Linked DNA regions of Homo sapiens: regions 1, 2, 3 and 4 are each linked to region 5. The links are contacts of gene promoters, found by promoter capture Hi-C in blood cells and fetal thymus (Javierre and others, 2016). All regions are on one chromosome and are shown on one strand. Each heading gives the region's core, a stretch centred on a gene start or on the middle of the fragment in contact. The rest is flanking DNA. Distances are from core to core; before and after follow the strand shown. Region 1 overlaps CASC15 (cancer susceptibility 15). Region 2 overlaps CASC15 (cancer susceptibility 15). Region 3 overlaps CASC15 (cancer susceptibility 15). Region 4 overlaps CASC15 (cancer susceptibility 15). Region 5 holds the start of CDKAL1 (CDKAL1 threonylcarbamoyladenosine tRNA methylthiotransferase).

The links. The method cuts DNA at HindIII sites, captures the fragments that hold promoters and counts their contacts. A CHiCAGO score of 5 or more calls a contact.
Region 1: a contact is called between a fragment that was not itself captured here and the fragment with the promoter of CDKAL1 in region 5, in 1 of 17 cell types (fetal thymus). The highest score is 7.7, in fetal thymus.
Region 2: a fragment that was not itself captured here is called in contact with the fragment with the promoter of CDKAL1 in region 5 in 1 of 17 cell types (fetal thymus); the score reaches 5.3 in fetal thymus.
Region 3: a fragment that was not itself captured here is called in contact with the fragment with the promoter of CDKAL1 in region 5 in 1 of 17 cell types (fetal thymus); the score reaches 6.1 in fetal thymus.
Region 4: a contact is called between a fragment that was not itself captured here and the fragment with the promoter of CDKAL1 in region 5, in 1 of 17 cell types (fetal thymus). The highest score is 5.7, in fetal thymus.

The regions. Positions count from the first base shown.
Region 1 is chr6:22,148,347-22,152,604 of GRCh38, reverse strand. All of the region lies in intron 9 of CASC15 (cancer susceptibility 15), which reads right to left. Among named protein-coding and RNA genes, the nearest start is that of NBAT1, 3.3 kb to the right of the region's middle. RefSeq lists an enhancer at 1,447-4,258. The HindIII fragment of the contact is 176 bases long and covers 2,059-2,234 here.
Region 2 is chr6:21,937,043-21,941,563 of GRCh38, reverse strand. The region is part of intron 5 of CASC15 (cancer susceptibility 15); the gene reads right to left. Among named protein-coding and RNA genes, the nearest start is that of NBAT1, 210 kb to the left of the region's middle. The HindIII fragment of the contact is 2,987 bases long and covers 1,442-4,428 here.
Region 3 is chr6:22,020,319-22,024,237 of GRCh38, reverse strand. It overlaps CASC15 (cancer susceptibility 15), which reads right to left. Exons shown (of 12, transcript NR_015410.2): 7 at 3,696-3,899. Among named protein-coding and RNA genes, the nearest start is that of NBAT1, 120 kb to the left of the region's middle. The HindIII fragment of the contact is 7,165 bases long and covers 1-3,919 here.
Region 4 is chr6:22,065,429-22,069,413 of GRCh38, reverse strand. The region is part of intron 8 of CASC15 (cancer susceptibility 15); the gene reads right to left. Among named protein-coding and RNA genes, the nearest start is that of NBAT1, 80 kb to the left of the region's middle. The HindIII fragment of the contact is 2,676 bases long and covers 586-3,261 here.
Region 5 is chr6:20,532,853-20,536,873 of GRCh38, reverse strand. It overlaps CDKAL1 (CDKAL1 threonylcarbamoyladenosine tRNA methylthiotransferase), which reads right to left and starts at 2,417. Exons shown (of 16, transcript NM_017774.3): 1 at 2,300-2,417; 2 at 1,480-1,523. RefSeq lists enhancers at 2,219-2,298, 2,329-2,488. The HindIII fragment of the contact is 2,844 bases long and covers 1-2,598 here.

The sequences.
Region 1 (4,258 bases), core at 897-3,396, 1.6 Mb before region 5:
TGACTTCACAAAAGGCACATTCTGACTTACTGATAGATCTTTCATATTATAAAAGTGTTGAGACAGTTTGGAAGAGATGTAGCTTCTCTGTGACATCAGGAGAGCTGATCATCTCCAAGCATCTGATAGTAAGGGCACCAGTTCTTCCCCAAAGTTGTAAGGACTAAGTAACATTAGGTGTCAGACAGAATACAGTCAGGGAAACTATTCAACACAAGATTCACCTGCGCTTCGTGGCCCACCACAATCAACTGCTTATATTCCCTTTTTTGTTTACCCACCAATCCCACCAAAACCTCATTGGTCTATGTTGAACCTTATAACTGGAGAAGTTAGCCTCCTGTGTGAGCAGAAAATAAATACCTAATAAATAAATGATTGATGCAATGAGTGAGGATGATCGCTCCTTTGGTGTTTTAATGAATGGCAAAGGATGAAATGAATACTATGACATACATTGTCTAAGTGAATATCTAGGATTCAAGCTTAAGTATAAGCTTAAGCTTAGCCAAGTCAGCATAAATGACATTTTAAAATATGCTTGCTTTGTTTTTGTTTTTGACTTATTGAATACTTACCTCCCTGGTAATGGATAAAAACAATGGGAAATTCTTAGCAACCTAAACAGCCAAATAAGACTTATATTGAACTATTATAATGTGATCAATTTATTTTTAATCAAACTATAAACATTTGATTGGACTGGGTACCTGGAAACAGGCTGTGCTTTACATACAAATTAGCCATATGTTTATTAAAGAATGTTAATAAAAGTATGTTGACGTTTTTCCTTTCTTAAGTGATTTTAAAGTGACATTTTATTTCTATATATTTGCATTTAAATATTTAAATAATTGTCCATTGACCTAAGCAAAATAAATACTGCAAAAGAAAACCAAAAAATGTTCACTTATTAAAACAACAAAGAAATTGCTTCATTTCGGAAGGAGCAGTACCCCAGATAATCTTTTATTCAACAAATATAAATTGGCATTTTATTCAATTACAAAAGATTGCTAGTGTAGTTGGAAACCTTTACAATAAATGTTTGGGGACTCTCAAAGCCAGTGAGGGTATGATCGATCAATTACAACATCAGAATATATACTCTATTTTAGCTTGATAAGATTTATATGCTGAAATGTAAACACTCCTGGATTTAAAAAATGTATATATGATTGATAGATTTCTTGGCTCTGATAGCATTAGAGGATTTGTTTTATTTTGTTTTGACTGTAGTCTCCGCTATAAGTAGGAATCACTGTTTTAAAGCATTATGTATCTAAATAGTTCCAAATATTTTTTAAAATGTAAATGAAAAGAAAAATCTACACCTAAATTTTCTCTTGCCTTTTTCACGTGGGCAAAAAAAACTAATGTGACAAGTTTACAAGAATCTCTATTATTCTTTTCCTTTATGTAGCCCAGTTTCTTTTTTACTTGTGATATCCCAGGGTGTTCTCACGAAAATTAATTTCAAATCTAAAAGGCAAGGATAATCACTACTTTCAGCAGTAAAAGGTAACAGAAAGAAATTGCAGTTTAAGCACAGTTAGCATATAATTAAGAACAAGAAAAATTAAAGTATTCTTAAATATGTGTTGCTTTAATTTTTCTCCTGATGGCTTTTCAGATTACCTTAAAAAGATCTATCAAGACTCCTCCTCTAGAAAAGATCTATTAAAAGCCACAGACACTTGGAGATCCATGAGAAGGAAAAAAATGGGTCATCTTATACAGTTGATTATGTGAGTTGTCTACATGCAGTGCATATGTCAGCAACAAGGAAAACAACCTCCAGATACATTCTGCAGGCAGATTTTCTTCTGGAGAAAAACCTATGTTTTCCTATACATTGTGAAGCCAACAGGGTAGGGTAGGAGCAGTTCAGTTTCATCCATAAGCATCCACATCAGGCTGGTTTTTGAAAAGGGAGCCAAACCCACAATACCCCAGAAAATAATATTTTGTAATAACAAAAATGGTATATATATTTTTTTCCTATCTAAATCTGGAATCCTGACCACCTTGTTTTAAACAAGACAGAGATTGCAAGCTTCAATCTGTTTGGATAGAAAAGAATTTATATAAATGTTTTGTTCAAGCCCAAAAGGGAAAGAGAGTTTAAATATACAGTGCATGAAAGATGCATGCCCAACTTCAAAACAGCTTAGTGCACAGAAGAGGAAAAATAATCTAACCTTCTGTTAGTCATTCCCAACAGTTTTTAAGCTTAAATATCTTGCAATTTGCGACATCGTTTCAGTGACCCCAACAGTGAGAGATTAACCAAAATTTCATAACTGCCCTGCCCTCCTCCCCTCATGCATCTTGAGGGGAGGGGGAGAGAACAAGAAGGTCAAAGAACAAATGGAAACAAAATCTGTGTTTTGCACTCTTTCTCTGCACTTGAGAAAGAAAAGGAGGCACATAAATCTGTATAATACTAAACCAAATCTCTTTAATTCCAGTCAGCTTTTATCATTCAGCCACTGAGTCTGTGTGTGGAAAAATTCATGCTAATTCCCCCTAGCAACAGACTCAGCCTATCAGGAGACTTTATGTACCATGCAGCTGCCAGCCAGAGAGAATAACTCTAAGTAGGTCAGGCCTGTATTTCTAAAAATGCTACGGTCTAGTAACCCCACTGTCCCGTCTGTCTGCCCTGCCCCATAATAACCTCAATTGCTTGGTGACACAATGACATACTATCCTGTTAGAGTGCAATCACATCATGCTACATTATTCTGCTGCGAGCATGACTGCTGGGTGAAGGACCCTCGGAGGGGCAGCATTAATCAGGCGGGCATTCATGTCCAGCAGCACTTCGCTCTAGAAATGGGGACTGCATTAATGACCAGCTGTTTGAACTAACACAAACAAAATAATGTCTTCCACCCTGTTGGGTGCACAGAATACACTATTCTGATCTGGCAGGTTCCGCTTCTTGACTAAATCGAAGATGTAAATTAAACGGGCTCAGACAATGTCAGTTTTGGCAACCTCAAAGTGAGTATATTTAAATTATATTACATGTGATTCAAAAAGCTATTGATTTAATATATGCAGCTTTCCATGCTACAATTTTCCCTAATCCACATTTTAAAAAAAGAAAAATGCATACATGGGTAATGCAATACATATGCACATATTACCCAGCAAGCTAAACACACAGAGCTGAACTAAAATTGACTTCTCTTTGGGCAGAGAAACAAAGCAGGTCAGGAGTAATTGTGCAGCATGAACACAAATACAAACAGAAAATGAATGCCATGGAGGAGCACTGAAAACAAATAAGAGTAAACATTCTAAGCCTACGGACCAATCAGCTCCTCCCACTGTCTCTTTGTGGAGGCTGTAGTAGCACCCAAATCTCCAAGCACAAGAGACAAGGGAGGGAAGTGAACGTGGCCTTGAAATCTCAACAACTGTGGTACCCTGACTTCCCATAACGATTACTGACTAGCTGCTGTTTGGCTTCAAGACAGCAAAAGCTCCTTCAAGGTTTAAACTCGGGAGATCACCAAAAATCAAAACTCCTTAGTTGTTTTTTAAATTCTAAAGTGGGAATTTTAGAATTTAATTTACCCTATTTACTCGAATGTAACTTTTGACTTCTCTCTATTGAAATGCACAAAAACAAACAAAAAAATTTATGTGTGGATACAGAGATAGGAGACTGGCAGTGCCATTTTTGGCTATTTAGTAAAACATCTTGTATTGATAGAGCTTGCACTGATATTTTCTCGCATGATTAATTTGCATGTTTAAGCGTTCACAGTTTCATTTAATGAACATATCCCCCCTGACAAATTGATAATTCAGCCTTCAATTACGCAGAATTCAGTTAAGTCTTATCTGTGTAATCCATCAGTATTTGATTTACAAACAGAAAATTTCTTAATCCATTTGCCCTTGTTTGAACTGGGTTTGATAACTTAGTTATGACTATCTTCTTCACTTTGTGGCACATATCACATAGTTATTCTTGGATAGATACAGTCACTGACGCAACCATGAACCGCTAATTACAAGCTGGTGACATTCTGCTTGTCTATGCAGCTTTGAAGTTCTAAGGCTGTTTTTCTCTTGTGCGCTTGCTCTGTTTCATTCTCTTCTCCTCATGCCACCCACCCCCAATCACTTACTCTCTCTTTCCTCTTTTCACTTTAAAGCCTTTCTGGATTCACTCTAGGACTATCTGGAGAAAGAGGTAAGAATGATCAGATTCTGTAACTTATTGCTTTTCCTTTCCTTC
Region 2 (4,521 bases), core at 1,686-4,185, 1.4 Mb before region 5:
GTCCCAGCTGCTAGGGAGGCTGAGGCAGAAGAATGGCATGAACCTGGGAGGCAGAGCTTGCAGTGAGCCGAGATCACGCCACTGCACTCCAGCCTGGGTGATAGAGCAAGACTCCGACTCAAAAAAAAAAAAAAAAGAACTCTTAGATGCCAAGAAGAAAAACATAATCCATTTAAAAATGGGTAAGAAACTTGAATAAGTCCTTCAAAAGGATATCCACCCTGATTTTATTATATGAATGTATCAAATTATCACATTTACCTTGAAAATATGTACATCTATTATCTGCCCATAAAAAATAAATAAATGTAAAAAAAGAGGATATCCAAATGTCTACTAAGCATAAGAAAAGGCTGTCAACTTCATTAGTCATTAGAAGGAAATGCAAATTAAAATTACGATAAGGCCAGACACAGTGGCTCATGACTATAACCCCAGCACTCTGAGAGGCCGAGGGAGTAGTAATGGTTGAGGCCAAGAGTTCAAGATCAGCCTAGGCAACATAGCAAGACCCCATCTTTCTACAAAAAATTTAAAAATTAGCCAGGCATGGTGGTGTGTGCCAGTAGTCCTAGCTACTCTGAAGGCTAAGGAGAGAGGATCACTTGAGGTTGAGGCTGCAGTGAGATATGATCACGCCCCTGCACTTCAGCCTGGGTCACAGAGAGAGACCCAATTTCATGCAATTTTAGTAGTAGTATAAAAACGTACAACTAGTTTCACGATCTGTTTGGTGATTCCTATTAAAACCGAATGCATGGGCAGGGTGTGGTGGCTCATGCCTGTAATCCCAGCACTTTGGGAGGCCAAAGCAGGTGGATCGCCTGAGGTCAGGAGTTCGAGACCAGACTGGCCAACATGGTGAAACCCCGTTTCTACTAAAAATACAATCATTAGCCAGGGGTGGTGGCGGGTGCCTGTAATCTCAGCTACTCAGGAGGCTGAGGCAGAAGAATCGCTTGAAACCAGGAGGCGGAGGTTGCAGTGAGCCGAGATTGTGCTATTGCACTCCAGCCTGGGCTATACGAGCAAAACTCAGTCTCAAAACAAACAAACAAACAAAAATGGTAGGGTGGATAAAGTATATTCATATAACAAAATAGTGATAGTAACATCTTTGAACCTTTCAAACATGATGTTGAGGGGAAAATAAACCGCCCAACTCAAAAACATATATGCAGTAATATTTCATTTATATAAAGTTATAAATTTGGCAAAACTAATCCAAGAGAAGGCATGACAATAGTTTCCGAGGTGCTGGCAATTAATCAAATGCTGCCTATGTGAAAGAATTTATAAATATTCATTGAGCTGAGCTTTATACGTATGATTTGTGTACTTTCCACATGTGTGTTATACTTTAATTTTAAAAAATTATTTGAAATATAAAGAAAAATAAATCCTTAATTTACTTAACCCAAAAAGGTCTGGTCCTAAAGCTTCAGCTTAAGGAAATGATCAAAAGCCTGAAAAATTTTAGGCACAATATGTCAGGCAGCATTATTTGTAATGGCAAATGAGGAGTGTTCAACGATAAGGAAATGTAAACTATGGCGGACCTAATTAGTAAAATATTACAAAATATTACCTAGCAATAAAAAGTATACTCATGGCCAGGTACAGTGGCTAACATCTGTAATCCTAGAACTTTGGGAGGCCCAGGCGGGTGGATCACCTGAGGTCATCAGGAGTTCGAGACCAGCCAGGCCAACATGGTGAAACTCCATCTCTACTAAAAATAGAAAAATTAGTCCAGCATGGTGGCAGGTGCCTGTAATCACAGCTACTCAGGAGGCTGAGGCAGGAAATTGCTACAACCTGGGAGGCGGAGGTTGCAGTGAGCCAAAATCACGCCATTGCACTGCAGACTGGGGAACAGAGCAAAAACTCCATCTCAAAAAAAAAAAGAAAAAGAGAAAGAAGTATACTCATGACCCAATGATCTATGCAAAAACACTCACAAAAGACAAAGAACAGGTGGGGGCACGGTGGCTCACGCCTGTAATCCCAGCACTTTGGTAGGCTGAGGCAGTGGATAACTTGAGTTCCAGACCAGCCTGGCCAATAAGTAAAACCTCGTCTCTAGTAAAAATACAAAAACTAGCCAGGCGTAGTGGTGGGCGCCGGTAATCCTGGCTACTTGGGAGGCTGAGGCAGGAGAATAACTTGAACCTGGAAGGTGGAGGTTGCAGTGAGCTGAGATCGCGCCATTGCACTCCAGCCTGGGCAACACAGCAAAACTCCATCCCCCCACACACAAAAAAAAGACAAGGAATGACTGAAAGTGAGCCAGTTGGAAATATGCCAAAATCATTCAGTACAGTATTCAAGTAACTGGGTTTTATGTAACTTTTTTTTTTTTTTTTTTTTTGCTTCTCTTAAAAAATTGTCTTCATGGCTGGACATGGTGGCTCACACCTATAATCCCAGCACTTTGGGAAGCCAAGGCGGGCGATCACCTGAGGTCGGGAGTTCAAGACCAGCCTGACCAACATGGAGAAACCCCATCTCTACTAAAAATACAAAATTAGCCGGGGGTGGTGGTGCATGCCTCTAATCCCAGCTACTCGGGAGGCTGAGACAGGAGAATTCCTTGAACCCAGGAGGCGGAGGTTGCAGTGAGCTGAGCTCGCACCATTGAACTCCAGCCTGGGCAACAAGAGTGAAACTCCATCTCAAAAAAAAATTTCATCATTTGTTAGACTAGAAAAAATAAGAAGTTATTATTATTACTTAATATTACAGAATGTTTTGATCTTTTTTTTTTCCACTACATCTGGGAGGGTGAGTCAGAAATTTCTCCTCTGTTTCACCAAGCACAGAATGCACCACACCACCACAAAACAGTTCTCTAAACAGTAAGTGTGAAATCACTTGGGCAACTTTTTTTTTACTTTTTCTGTTTTGAGACGGAGTCTCACTCTATCACCCAGGCTGGAGTGCAGTGGCATGATCTCAGCTCACTGCAACCTCTGCCTCCTGGGTTCAAGAGATTCTTCTGCCTCAGCCTCCAGAGTAGCTGGCACTACAGGCGTGTGCCATCACGCCCGGCTAATTTTTGTATTTTTAGTAGAGATGGGGTGTCATCATATTGGCCAGGCTGGTCTCGAACTCCTGACCTCGTGATCCGCCCGCCTCGGCCTCCCAAAGTGCTGGGATTACAGGCGTGAGCCACCGTTCCCGGCCTCACTTGGGCAACTATTAATTGACGTACCTGCATATACTTATGCCTCCAAAGCCCTCATCTTGTAAGAAATCTAATACTATTCTTTAAGTAGAAAAATGTAATATACTGATGACCTAGCTCAGGAATCCTACGGAATACAGTCTTAAGTTTCCTTGACTTTTGCCTCAGGGACTAATGAGAAGAAGGCCTCAGATTCTTTAATTGATGGCTCTGGAACTGACCAGTGATAAAGAAGATTGATCTTTCATTTGAAGGCATGCTTAGTGTTTGGGTTACAGTTATATGAAATAATTATGTAGAAGAAAACTGCACAAGCATAAGGCACTGTGCTACGCTTTGTGGGATTATAAAAGTATATGAGACCTATTCCTACCTTCAAGCAGCTTAGAGTCTTCACTATCAGACAGCACACAATATTATGTAAACCAAATACAAAGATGTCAATGAATACTTATGTTAATTAGAGCCATCCTTATTTTTCTCTAAGATCTAACACGATCACAGGGGTTCTAAGTCTGGAAACTATATTTCTCAGATTCCTTGGCCAGCAAGGTTCTAGGTTTAGGTTCTTTCAAAGGCACTTATACAAAACTGGAAGATGGCAGAATCCATTTGTCTTTGACTCTGGCAGCAATAGCAGCAGCAGATTTGTACAGAGTCTTGTAACACAAGCTCTAGGCGCTGGTCTCCTGTAGTGACTGAGTAGGCCGTGGTGGGGCGACGAAGACATACTCTGGCATTAGAAGTAATAGTTTCCTGCAGTTACTGGTCTAGGAAACACCGACACCTCCACCATTCATTTGCTGCTCTAGTCCTTTTAACAGTTACAACCTAATTCCCTGTATTGACTCCTACCCTGCTTGAAATATTAATAGATAAATAGGTTCAGTTTCTTCGAGTGACCCATGACTCAGTCAGGAAATGGCAGAATCTCTTCTTCTGGTCTCTTTTGGAAAAAGGCTAAATCCTAGTGTACAAAACATAGTCTTCTAACTCTACCACCAACTTTTTAAAGCTATTTTTTGACCATCATTATGAGCTTTCTCTCTTAATTGCCAAAAATATGGAGAATGATGATACAGGAAAATTAATGTTTTTATATCAAACATTTGACAAAGATTAATATTCTCTTGAATTAGATATGTTTATCCTTTAGAATAGTAATGACATATTAAGTAGAGGGATGCTCCTTGAGGACAATAATATAATCACTGGAGGCTTAGCCTGTTATTAATTAAGCTTATCAAAAGTATCATTATGTGTGTGCACGCAAATCTATACATACATATTGTATGCCTTCTTTTTCTTTTCTTTTTTTTTAAGACAAGGTCTCC
Region 3 (3,919 bases), core at 138-2,637, 1.5 Mb before region 5:
TGCAAAATGGAGATAACACTTCCTGCTACCTACCTCAGAGAGCTGTTAGAAGATTAGATACCGAAAAAGAAAATCCTCAAAGCCCTTTAAGTTTCTCATACATATAAGACATGCAATGTAATAAAACACCCGTACTCTCTACAAAAGCCCTGAGAGACTCACGGCTATAGAAATAGGAAACAGACGCCAGCTGTACAGCATGGATGCATTCACAATCAGGGAGGCTGGCTGCAGATTCCAGTGACAAGGCAGGGAAAATAACTCTGACATTCACATGTACTCAGACAAAACACCCAGGAAAAGGGAGGAAAATAGTATTGTTTCAGTAGAGCACCAGTAAGTGAAAAGAAGCAATCTTCACAGATAACATTCCTAATTCCTGCTTAAAAGTCTGGATCTACAAGAAGACAATCAAGTGACAACATTACACTGGTAGCCTTTAAGGTTTAGAAAAATCTCATATTAAAGTAAATTGGGCCAAGTAGAGTGGCTCACGCCTGTAATCCTAGCACTTTGGGAAGCTGAGATGGGAGGACCACTTGAGCCCAGTTTGAGACCAGCCTGGGCAACACAAGGATACCCCTATCTCTACAAACAATAACAATTTTAAAAATTAGCCAAGCATGGTGGCACACACCTGTGGTGCCAGCTACTCGGGAGGCTGAGGTGGGAGGATTGCTTGAGTGCAGGAGGTCAAGTCTGCAGTGAGCTGTGATCAAGCCACTGCACTCCAGCCTGGATGACAGAGCAAGCCTCTGTCTCAAAAATAAAATAAAATAAGTAAATTGGCTCTCTAGAGGGGTAAGGGTAATAACCCCCACACTGAACAAAATGTAAAGAAGAGAATGCATAAATTACAGTATTTTAAATTAATTTATACTGGAAACAAAAGCCATGCTTGACTGTACATAGCCATCTAAGGAAAATAATTACTCTTGGGTCCATAAGGAAATTGGGAGAAAAGTATTAAATGTTCATCTATTCTAAGATATTCTGAATTATGAAAAGTTTAAAATTCAAATTAATCAATTAATTAAACACATATTATTATTATATCAAGGATGTATTGTGAGTTCCATGTCAGGTTAAAATTAAAAAAGATGAATAATATCCTTTTCCTGGTTCTCATGAACCTCAAAGTCCAGCAAGGAGAGACAGAGACAAAATAAAGTATAACACAATGTGGGAAGGGTTTGAGTCAAGTATAAACAGAGTGCTAAGGAAGAACAGAGGGAAGATGTAATTGATTCTGTATGGAAAAGAGGAGGGGGAGGGGCTTAGGAAAGTCTCAGAGAATTTGACACTTAAACAAGACCTTGCAAAATGTACAATATTTCACCCAATATAGAGCAAGGGGAAGGGGCATTTTAGATAAATAAATGGCAGCCCACATCTCAAGGCATGTCTACATATGTCCGAGTTAAGTGTCACACAACGCAGACAGCCCGGAAGGGCCTGGATTGCAAGGTCTTTGTGAGGAAGGAGGCATCACAGGACGAGATTTTTGAAAAGAGACTTGGTATTTTCTACAACTCAATAAAAGAGAAGGAGGCAAGTGTACAGGAAGAGAAGCAGCAGGAACAGGAGGTAGCCCTGGCCCCTGGGCCTGAGACAGACCTTGGGGAAACCGACAGCATTGCTAAGGCCAGTTCTGTAGGTAGAGGTGAGGAAGACAAAGAGGCAGAGAAGCAGGAAGGCATAGTGCACTGAACCATGACTCAGAAATGGTCAAGAGTGGGACTTCCAGGAGAAGTAGCAGGCCCAACCTAGATGGACAGTGTAGTACACAGAATAATGGCCACCAATATATCAGGTCCTAATCTCTGGGACCTGTAAATGTTACCTTCTATGCAAAGACTTTGCAGATGTGATGAAATTAAAGATCTTGAGATGGGGGGATTATTTTGAATTATCTAGTTGGGCCTTAAATGTCATTACATGTATGCTTCTAAGAGGGAAGCAGAGGCAGATTTGACTACAGATGGAAGACAGGAAGGCAATGTGGCCGTGGAGGGGGCAGATATTGGAGTGATGAGGCCACAAGCCAAGGGATGTCAGCAGTTTCCAGAAGCTGGAAGAGAGAAGGAACAGATTCTCCCCCAGAGCCTCTGGCAGGAGCTCAGCCCTGTCAAAACCTAAATGTCTGTTGTTTTAAGGTGCCAAGTTTGTGGTAATTTGCTACAGCAGCCAGAGGAAATTAATACACACAGTGAACAAAGAGTCACCCCCAGCTGTTCTTAGATGCCACCATCACCAGTCTTGATAAGAATCATTCAGACCAAGGGCAGTGACTCACGCCTATAATCCCAGCACTTTGGGAGGCCAAGGTGGGAGGGTAGCTTGAGGCCAGGAGTTTGAGACCACCTTGGGCAGCAAAGCGAGACCTCATCTCAACAAAAAATAAAAATTAGCCAGGTATGGTGGTACACGCCTATAGTCCCAGCTACTTAGGAGGCTGAAGGAGGAGGACTGTTGGAGCCCAGGAGTTCCAGCCTGCAGTGAGCTATGATTTTACCACTGTGCTCCAGCCTGGGCAACAGAACAAGACCCCATCTTAAAAAAAAAAAAAAAAGAAGAAGAATTCAGATGGAAGGCACTCCAACTCTCAAGAATAAATTGAAGTCTAAGCTGCCACGTTAGAGGAAGACAAGATTATTAACCTTAGTAACTAGTCAAAATTTAGGAACAGAAACCCAGGTATAATCCTAGACTAGGTTAATACAAGGTGGCTGGAAGAACTATAAATAGAAGCCACCAAATGACAACATGTTGGGGAAGGAAAGTGGGTCTGAATAGTAGTGGGAACAACAGGAAAGACACAGCAACCCAGAGGTCATTACTGGGCCACCAAATTTCTGGTAGGATAGTCATTTTAATTTTAAGTGCCCATTGGATAGGGGAAGAGATGAGGGGAGAATGGAAAACGTTTACATGTACTATGTCTCAATCAGCACTGATTCAGAAACTGGACCAGAACTAGACCACCAAATCAAAGACATCAGGGAATACAGGTGTGGGAAGATTATGGCAAAGAGAAAGATGGGGCATGAAATGCTGAAAATCTTGAAATACACTCTTCAGTCAATAACAAAAGTAACATAAGGAGATCCACCTGAGAAGGGTGGGAGCAGTAGGGACTGTCCATGATAGACTAGATAGCCCAGTAAGAAGGTGACTGAACCAGCCAGGGCCGGAGATGGTCAGGGCCAAATAGGAGAATGGGGAAATGGGGGTGAATTAGAGAAATATTTGGAAGGCATGGCAAACTGCTTGAATAGGGAATGAGTGACTGGGGAGCAGGGGACAGCAGAGAAATGAGAACAACGATCTTTGAAGCACAAAACTCAAAGGAAAAAGTGTTAAAACAGACAGAATGAGTTTGTCTCTGGCTCTATTGAGTTTTGTGTGTGGGTGGGTCATGCCAGGAGTGACACGTAGAGAGCATTGGGATCTGAAACCAGAAGAATGTCATAAATGTTTGAACGTTTGAAAAAGTTATCTGTACTGTACTCTTTCATCTTTTTTCTGATTCATCACTATGAAAGGACCCAATGAAGGTTCCTACAATTTTGATATCCTAAAAACAAAATGTTTGAACTATACTCATATTACCTACTTACAAGAAAAACCTCACATCTCCAGCACTTTAAAGTAAATGCATTAAAATTTTTCTAAGAGGGACAAAAAATTCTTACCATTAGCCACTTCCTTCTTCTGTCTGTTTGTTTTGAGGACATCTGGTGAAACAGACAATGGAGAACAGCCATCCATGGGTCGGGGGGAATTGAGAAGGATGTTCAGTAGTAACCCAGGGATGACTTGGTGACGGAAAAGAAGGCACACATTTTAAATCTGCAGAGGACATCAAATTAGATGTGGTTGAGCAGTAAATGCAGATCCTATAAAGAGGAAAAAAAGA
Region 4 (3,985 bases), core at 674-3,173, 1.5 Mb before region 5:
CTCAGACAGCCACTCTGGCAACAACTGCACAGGGTTTGAAGCATTTCAGGTCCCAGAACAAGCCCTTCATTTCACAGAGAAGTGCTGAAGATCGTTTATTCCAGTAAGAACTCAAAATTCTACCCAAAAGCTATCACCAGAGGAAGAAAAAAAAAAACCTCACCAATTTTTCAGGCTCAGCTCCTAAATTAAACTTTCTTTCTCCCTCTCATGCCCAAGACCAACCAGAACCCACCAGCTCTGTCATCAATGACTGACTCCATCACATGAAACAGGACCAGAGGCTGATAATCCCAGTTTAGTAGAGTCTCTCCATGGTAAACTTTGAGAGAATTCGTATCCTTCCATCCTAGAGTGACTTTGTATACAGGCATCTCGTTTGAAAGGTGTGTGAGCACTCTTTTTTGTTATTTTTACTTTCTGATCAATATCAGCAAATGGCTGAGAACTGTATAATTATGAGAAAGCAGCTCTAAAGAATACTAGCTTTCATGTATTGAAAGGGACTAGTGTAAAGGCAGCAACTACAGTAGCAACTGACATTCATGAGTGTTTTCTAAAGCACTGGGTTTTATACCACAAGCTTCATCATCTCACTTAAACCTTAAAATAACCCTATGACATGTGCTTAGTAATTTCATTCCAAAGAGTGCAGTATGGGAAAAAGTCGGGGGAAGGCAAATTTGCAGTGAAGAGACTTGGCACCATGACCTCAGCCAGGTTATCAAGATCAACATCTATAGTGATACGTCATGGTGATCATAGGTACTCTTGATATGATGGTGGAGAATGGTGCTTCACCTCTGTGGTCTTCCTCTGAAAAAACCCATAACCAAGTCCAATCATGAGATGAATTTCAGTTGAAGGACATTCTACAAAATATCTGACCAGCACGCCTCAAAACTGTTAAGCTCATTAAAACAAGGAAAGGCTGAAAAACCCTCATAGTTCAGAGGAATCTAAAGAGACATGACTACTAAATGCAATGTCGTATCCAGTATGACCCTGGAACAGAAAAGGATATTAGGGAAGAACCAGTGAAATATAAAGATAAAAAAAAAAAAACCCAAACTGTGGAGTCATTTAATAGGCAAGTCCCAATGTTGAATTTTTTTTGACAAGCATACATAATAAGGTAACAAGAAAAGGAACCAGGCAAGGGATGTAAGACTACACTCTTCCTTTTTTTGCTACATTTCTGTAAATCTAAAACTACTTAAAAATTAAAAGTTTTTTTTTTAAACTCTGAGGATGATTCTCTTATCTCCATTCTAGAGATGAAAAGCTATAGGTTCAATAACTAACTTCTCAACATTATAATACAGAGCAAAAGAACCCTTCAGATATGCCTACTTCACATTTAAGCCACCAATGGAATAGAGCTGTGGGATAGGCCCTTGCATAAGATTTATAAAAACTACTTAATGCCAGATACATGCTGAGAAAATTAAACTGAAAGAATTTATTTCACTTACATTCCTCGTAATGAGATACTTTTATTTTAGCATATACTCTTAAGCAAAGGGGCCATAACATACTTTCTAAATATTTCATCCTTATTTCCCATCACAAATTTCAATTACTCAGTCAATGCTATGTGATGATCACATTTAAACAAAATTAGCTTAGGATTTTGCCAAAATGTTGACACTTTAACATTCCCTGAGAGAAGGCGGCATCAGCCAATGGACCTTTCACCCTATAATGTCCTATCTTTTAGCTACTCTTATTTGTGACACCCACATTTTCTCTTCTGATACACTAACTGGATATTTTGGTGCTGGTGAACTCAGCCTGCTGCCATAACACAGGATCAGTGAGTTACAAGTTAGGGTGCCCCTCAAAAGAGAATGACTACATCAGTATAAAGAAAGCCTAGCTTATACTTTGAGTTTCTTCAGATCCTGAGACATAGAAGATCAGCTGTGGCTGCTCTAAAACTCTGAAGACAACTAAATGCCCTCTGAAATATAAATTCTAACAGTGTTATCTACCAAACCAGTGTTTCCCACAGTGTGAAGCCAGCCTCTCTGGGAAAACTCCAATATCCTCCCAGGAAGGCTCAAGCAGTCCAAGACATATTCTTTTTTTCCTTGGGACTTGCCAAAATCAGACAGTAGGATTCAACAAATATTTCTAAATACTGTACTTAATATATTGTTCCCTGTGAGAATATAAAGTGGAAGCGATCCAGCAAGTAAGAAAACAGGCTGCCTTCTGTGTGTGATTAGATTAGCCTGCCTAAAGACATGTTTTTCTCAATCTTGTTCTATTTACAAGTCTTTTTTTGTTTGTTTTTTAAAGGGCAAGTGATTTCTTGAATTATTGATTTTACTACTCAGGGCTTGTCTCAGGAAGAGCTAAATCTCTTTTTCCTCCCTTTATACTTCAAACTATCCCAAGGCAATTCGTTAAAGGCATCATGTCTGTTTTAACGAGAGGAAAGGATGGAGAGAAGAAGGGGGAAGTGAAAATGACAATTTTCCCACAAAATCATAGCAAAAGAGCAATAGAATAACCAATGGGCTAACTCTCCCGATTCAATGGACAATGGAAATAGAGCCAAATCCAAAGTTTAACTTCTTCCCTTCACCAATCAATAGGAAAGAAAGAACCAAGTTCAAGAATCCATAATCATCCCCGCAGACAGGCAGACAGAAGACAAAGACAAACACACAAACACACACAAGGAAAGCAACTGTGGCACATTGGCACTGACCCAAAACAAACCCTTCCTCTCAAGAACCTTTCTGTTTTTATAACTTATGAAAAACTTTTTCAGAGTTTTAAAACTCAAAAAAAATCTTCATTTTGGAGCCCTTGATGGTTCAGGCTGGAATTTTTTTTTTCTAATCTCACACCAGTATGAGAAGTCATGTTAAGAGGTCATTTGAAGGATTAAACTTCTAAGATCATTTTCATGAGAAAGAGACTGAACATCAGAAGACTGTCCTTTGGGTAGATTCTTAAGGGCTCAGAGAAGAATTTGAACTCCTCAATGAGCATCTCCACATCAGCCTGAATCCTAACCCTCTTTCAGTCAGACATCCCAAATCTAAACCTCCTATTTAAGGCCTCAGAGTCTCAACATTCCAAGTGAGTGGACACTAGAGTCATCACACTCAATCTCCCCATCCCTGCAAACCCTGTTCTAACTCCCCAAAGGACACCTGCAGAACATTAAACCAAGATTGAGTATCAAAGCCAAAACCTCACAAAATATGGAAAAGTCAGATTTTTCAAAGCACTTGCAAATAAGCTTTTTAATGTCCTTTAAAGTTTTCATTAATTATAACAAGTCTTCTCAATTTTTGCTTTTGACTTTCCAGACAATTCATGGTGTCAACTATCTACAGTACAGAAAAAGTTTCACACATTTAATATGTGAAACAGCATAAAGCAGATAAAACGCATATGTAAAAATACGAAGCAAAACGTCAGTCTGACATCATAATTTTTTTTTTTTTTGAGATGGAGTTTCACTCTTGTTACCCAGGCTAGAGTGCAACGGCACAATATTGGCTCACTGAAACCTCTGCCTCCCGGGTTCAAGCAGTTCTCCTGCCTCCGCCTCCCAAGTAGCTAGGATTACAGGCGCCCACCACCATACCCACCTAATTTTTATATTTTTAGTAGAGACAGCGTTTCACCATGTTGGTCAGGCTGGTCTCGAACTCCTAACCTCAGGTGATCCACCTGCCTCGGCCTCCCACAGTGCTGAGATTACAGGCATGAGCCACCATGCTGGGCCGTGACATCATAATTTTACATGCCCATATTACTTTCATATTCATATTATTGACTCTCTACTGGTAAAGCTACATTGATGCAGAATATCAAACAGAACAGATTCAGCAATTTTTCCTGTGAAAAGTACATAGCAATGTGACCAGAGTCTTGTCCAGTACCTGGCACATAGAGGCACACAAATATTTGTTGAACTAATTAATCAATCACTAGTCTTTAACACTTTCTGCTAAGACAT
Region 5 (4,021 bases), core at 1,168-3,667:
TCAGCTGGAGTAGCATCATGGGGAACTTGTTAGAAATGAACATTTTTTCTTTTTCAGTTTTTTTGTAAAAACAAGGTCTCGCTTTGTTGTCCAGGCTGGTCTCAAACTCCTCCCATCTTGGCCCCTAAAGTATGGGATTACAGGCATGAGCCACCATGCCCAGCCAGAAATGAAAATTCTTGAACTCCACTCCAGACATACTAAATCAGATATTTTGAGTAAAACCTAGCAATATTTAACAGGCCCTCTAGGTGATTTTGATCTGAATTAAAGTTTGATAATCACTGTCCCAGAATTATTCTTTCATAAAAACCACCTAGAATGTATGTCAAATATACATAACCTAGACAATTCAAGGGGGAAAGCGTAGTTTTTTTTTCAACAAATGACACTGGGATAACTGGATAGCAACATGTAAAAAATAAAGTTGGAGCCCTATTTCACATTTCACATCATATACAAAAATTAACCGAAAATGGATCATAGACCTAAATTTAGGAGCTAACATTATGAAACTCTTAGAAAAAAACATAAGCACAAATCTTTATGATGTTAGAGTAGGCCCTTCTTTCTTAGCTAAGAAATGAAAAGCACAAGCAACAAAAGGAAAAACAGATTAGATGAAGAAGATACAGAAATGGGCCAGGTGCAGAGGCTCATGCCTATAATCCCAACACTGGGAAGCCAAGGTGGCAGGATCACTTCAGGCCAGGAGTACAAGGCCAGAGCCTAGGCAACACGGACCCTATCGCTACAAAAAAAAAAAAAAAAGTAAAATTTAGCCGGGCATGGTGGCATGCACCTGTAGTCCCAGCTACTTGGGAGGCTGAAGTGGGATCACTTGAGACCAGGTGGTCAAGGCTGCAGTGAGCCGTAATCGAGCCACTGCACTCTGGCCTGGGTGGCATAGGGAAGCCGTGTCTCAAAAACACACACATACAAATGGCTGATAAGCACATGAAAAGATGTCAACATCATGAGCCATCAGGGAAATGGAAATCCAAACCACAATAATACACCACTTCATACCCATTAGGATGGGTAGAATCAAAAAGACAAATAACTGTTGACAGGCATGTGGATTACATCACCCAGAGGGGAAGAAAAAGAGAACAGAGGTAGGAGAAGGTACAAGACCACGACTTGAGAGACTCCAAATTTAACTGCCAGATAAAGGAAAATCAGCTTATAATGGATTCCAAGAAGCAGCCACCAGACAAGGAAAAAAATCCATGGGCCATGGAAGGCAAATGAAAAGGGCATCTCAAAAAAGTGGACATGGTCAATGCTGGTGAATGAAAATGAAAGGTTAAGTAAAATAAATGAAAATATCTCTTCGATTTAATGCTATGTAAAGCACAATGTTTCCATAACATGATAGTGGCAAATAGCTAAAACATTAGGCTACCTCTCTGCATTTTCTAACATGCAGAAATACGCACAGCACTCAAACATAAAAGGTTTAAAATAAATCAGTACCTTAATTATCTGCAATTAGTCTAAAGTCCTCTTGAAAGATGAGTCTGGAAAATAAAAATTGATTAGGAAAAGTAAGCACCCAAAAAGTTCACAAAACCACTGTAAGGATTCTTTACTTAAAAGGAATCAGACTCCATAAAAGACTGCTTTATACAGCAGGATTAATGATGCTCCATACTACTTGTAACTTCTTACTGATTACAACAGGTGTGCTGACATCTGCCGTGACGGTGATCCAGTGTCTGGCTTTAGTAATAAATGTTGTATTCAGCACCGCAACACGTCTGCATAGTGCGAGTAACCAACCACTACAAAACAGGATTAAGTCAATAAGGTAGATAGACATCCAGATCACGTTCCATCCGAAAGATAACTGTCGTCCCGAGATTCAGAAAAAGGTTTTATGAGCAAAGAAGAACGAAAAGTGAAAAAGCAAGACACCTGCTTTTCTCAATAACTTCTGCTTAAATTCTTAACATACTGATCTGGGAAAGCTATATAACTGCGAAAGCCTTGTCACATCTACAAATTCACTAAGGTATAAAGTGGGAGAACAAATGAAGTTAAACCTGACAATAAGGAACGAGGTGCCTAAAATACTCCTAACTGGAGAGCGGCACCTGAGGCCAACGACCCTATCCTCGCTCCTGGAAGCCCCATCTGCCTCCCAATTCCCCCATCCCAGCTGGCAAATCCCCTTTTAACTGCGAAACAAATTTGCAAACAGCCCAAGAAAAACTGAAACTGGAGAAACAAGGCTTGGCCATAAAAGGAGCTGTGGCCACACTCTGCCCCACATGGACCCATCGGCCACCCTTACCCAGAAGTCGGGAAGTAAAAACCAGTCCAAAGTGAGAAAATCAACCCGCCACTCTCCGGAAGCTGCACAGACTTTAGATGGAGAGCGCCATGACACATACGTCCCGCCACGTTTATTTGCGCATGCTCAGCGACGGTGGCCCGAAGAGATCAAATTACATCATTGCTGAAAGCGCTAGTTCTGGTTTAACTTAGTTTAGGAATGACTACGCTTCAAGTTCCTTTGATTCCAAGAACTAAAATAACAACCCTGAGTCCTCGGGTTCCTAGAAATGCTTAATAGCCAACTTCTCCTAAGCTTTTATGTGTTAGACACTGTGCTAAGTACTTTGCATAAATATTATTCACTATTTATTTATTATTATTATTATTCCCAGTTTACAAAAGAGGACACTGGAAGTTTAAGGACTTAATCTAAGTTACTCTACTAGTCGTGCTGCGCTCTGGGCTGGATCCGATGCTGTCTGACTCCCAAAGAACTTGCTCTTTTCACTGCATTTTACTAGCCTCCTCAATCATTTGTGAAAAGAGGTCTCTTCTTTAATATTAAAAAAACAGGAAGGAAAGGATAAAGGTCAGTTGGTAGGTTTCACTTAATATACATCATTGAGCACCACACAAGTGTTTTTGTTTTTTGTTTTGGAAAACTTAGATGGCAGTTTAGCAGACACCTATGGAAAGAAAATACTTTTATGGAGTACGGATTCTCACCCGCTTTCTCTACATATGTTATCTCACTTTACTATTCGTTACCCAAGACACTGTATTTGACCATGTGTTTACCAGAAGAATATCTTTACTTGAAAAAGTAAAGGTAATAGGAGGCAATAGGCCATGAAGAAGGGTCAGAAATCGTGAGTTTTATGCCTGACTTAGGGTTTCATAGTGATTTGGGGCAATTACTTTGTTTTGCAAATGCCTTTCCTAGTACAATTTCATCTAATTAAAATGCCATCCATCTACTCAAGAGGCTGATGTGGGAGGATCACTTGAGCTCAGAAGTTTGAAAACAGCCTGGGCAACACAGTGAGACCCAGTCTCTAAAATAGATTTAAAAAAAAAAAAAAAAACCACCCTTTTCTCTGTTTATCCATATCCATAAAATAATCTAAACTGTGCCCTGGGGTCCACTGTTGTCTTTACCCACCTAAATTAAAATTGTGTATTTATGTTGCCCTACTTTTTTTTTTTTTTTTTTTTTTTTTTTAGATAGGGTCTTCTTCTGTCACCCAGGCTGGAGTACAGTGTTACCATCACAGCTCACTGCAACCTCTCCCTCCTAGCCTCAAGAGATTCTCATGCCTTAGCCTCCCAAGTAGCTGGGACTACAGGTGCACACCACCATACCCATCTAATTCCATCTCTTTCACTAGACCAAAAGTAGGCCCTGGGTTATCTTCTTGGTTGTAATCGCACTACCTAGCACATAACCTTGTGCCTATGTTTATAGCTTCTCAATAAACATATGTTGAATGAATGAATGAATGAATGAATGACTCCACCCCTTTTCCCCCAAGATCTAGTTGAGTTCAGTAAAAGATATTTTACTGAGTATGTACCCCATGACCACAAGCACTGTGATAGATGCTAGAGCTAAAAAGAAAGAAAAAAAGTACTGCCTATTGCAATTGCAGGCTATTTTGAAAAAATTCATTTCAGTAGAGAATAGCAATCACTATGAAAGATGAATGCACAGGAACACAAAGGTGAAGTAAGGGAAATG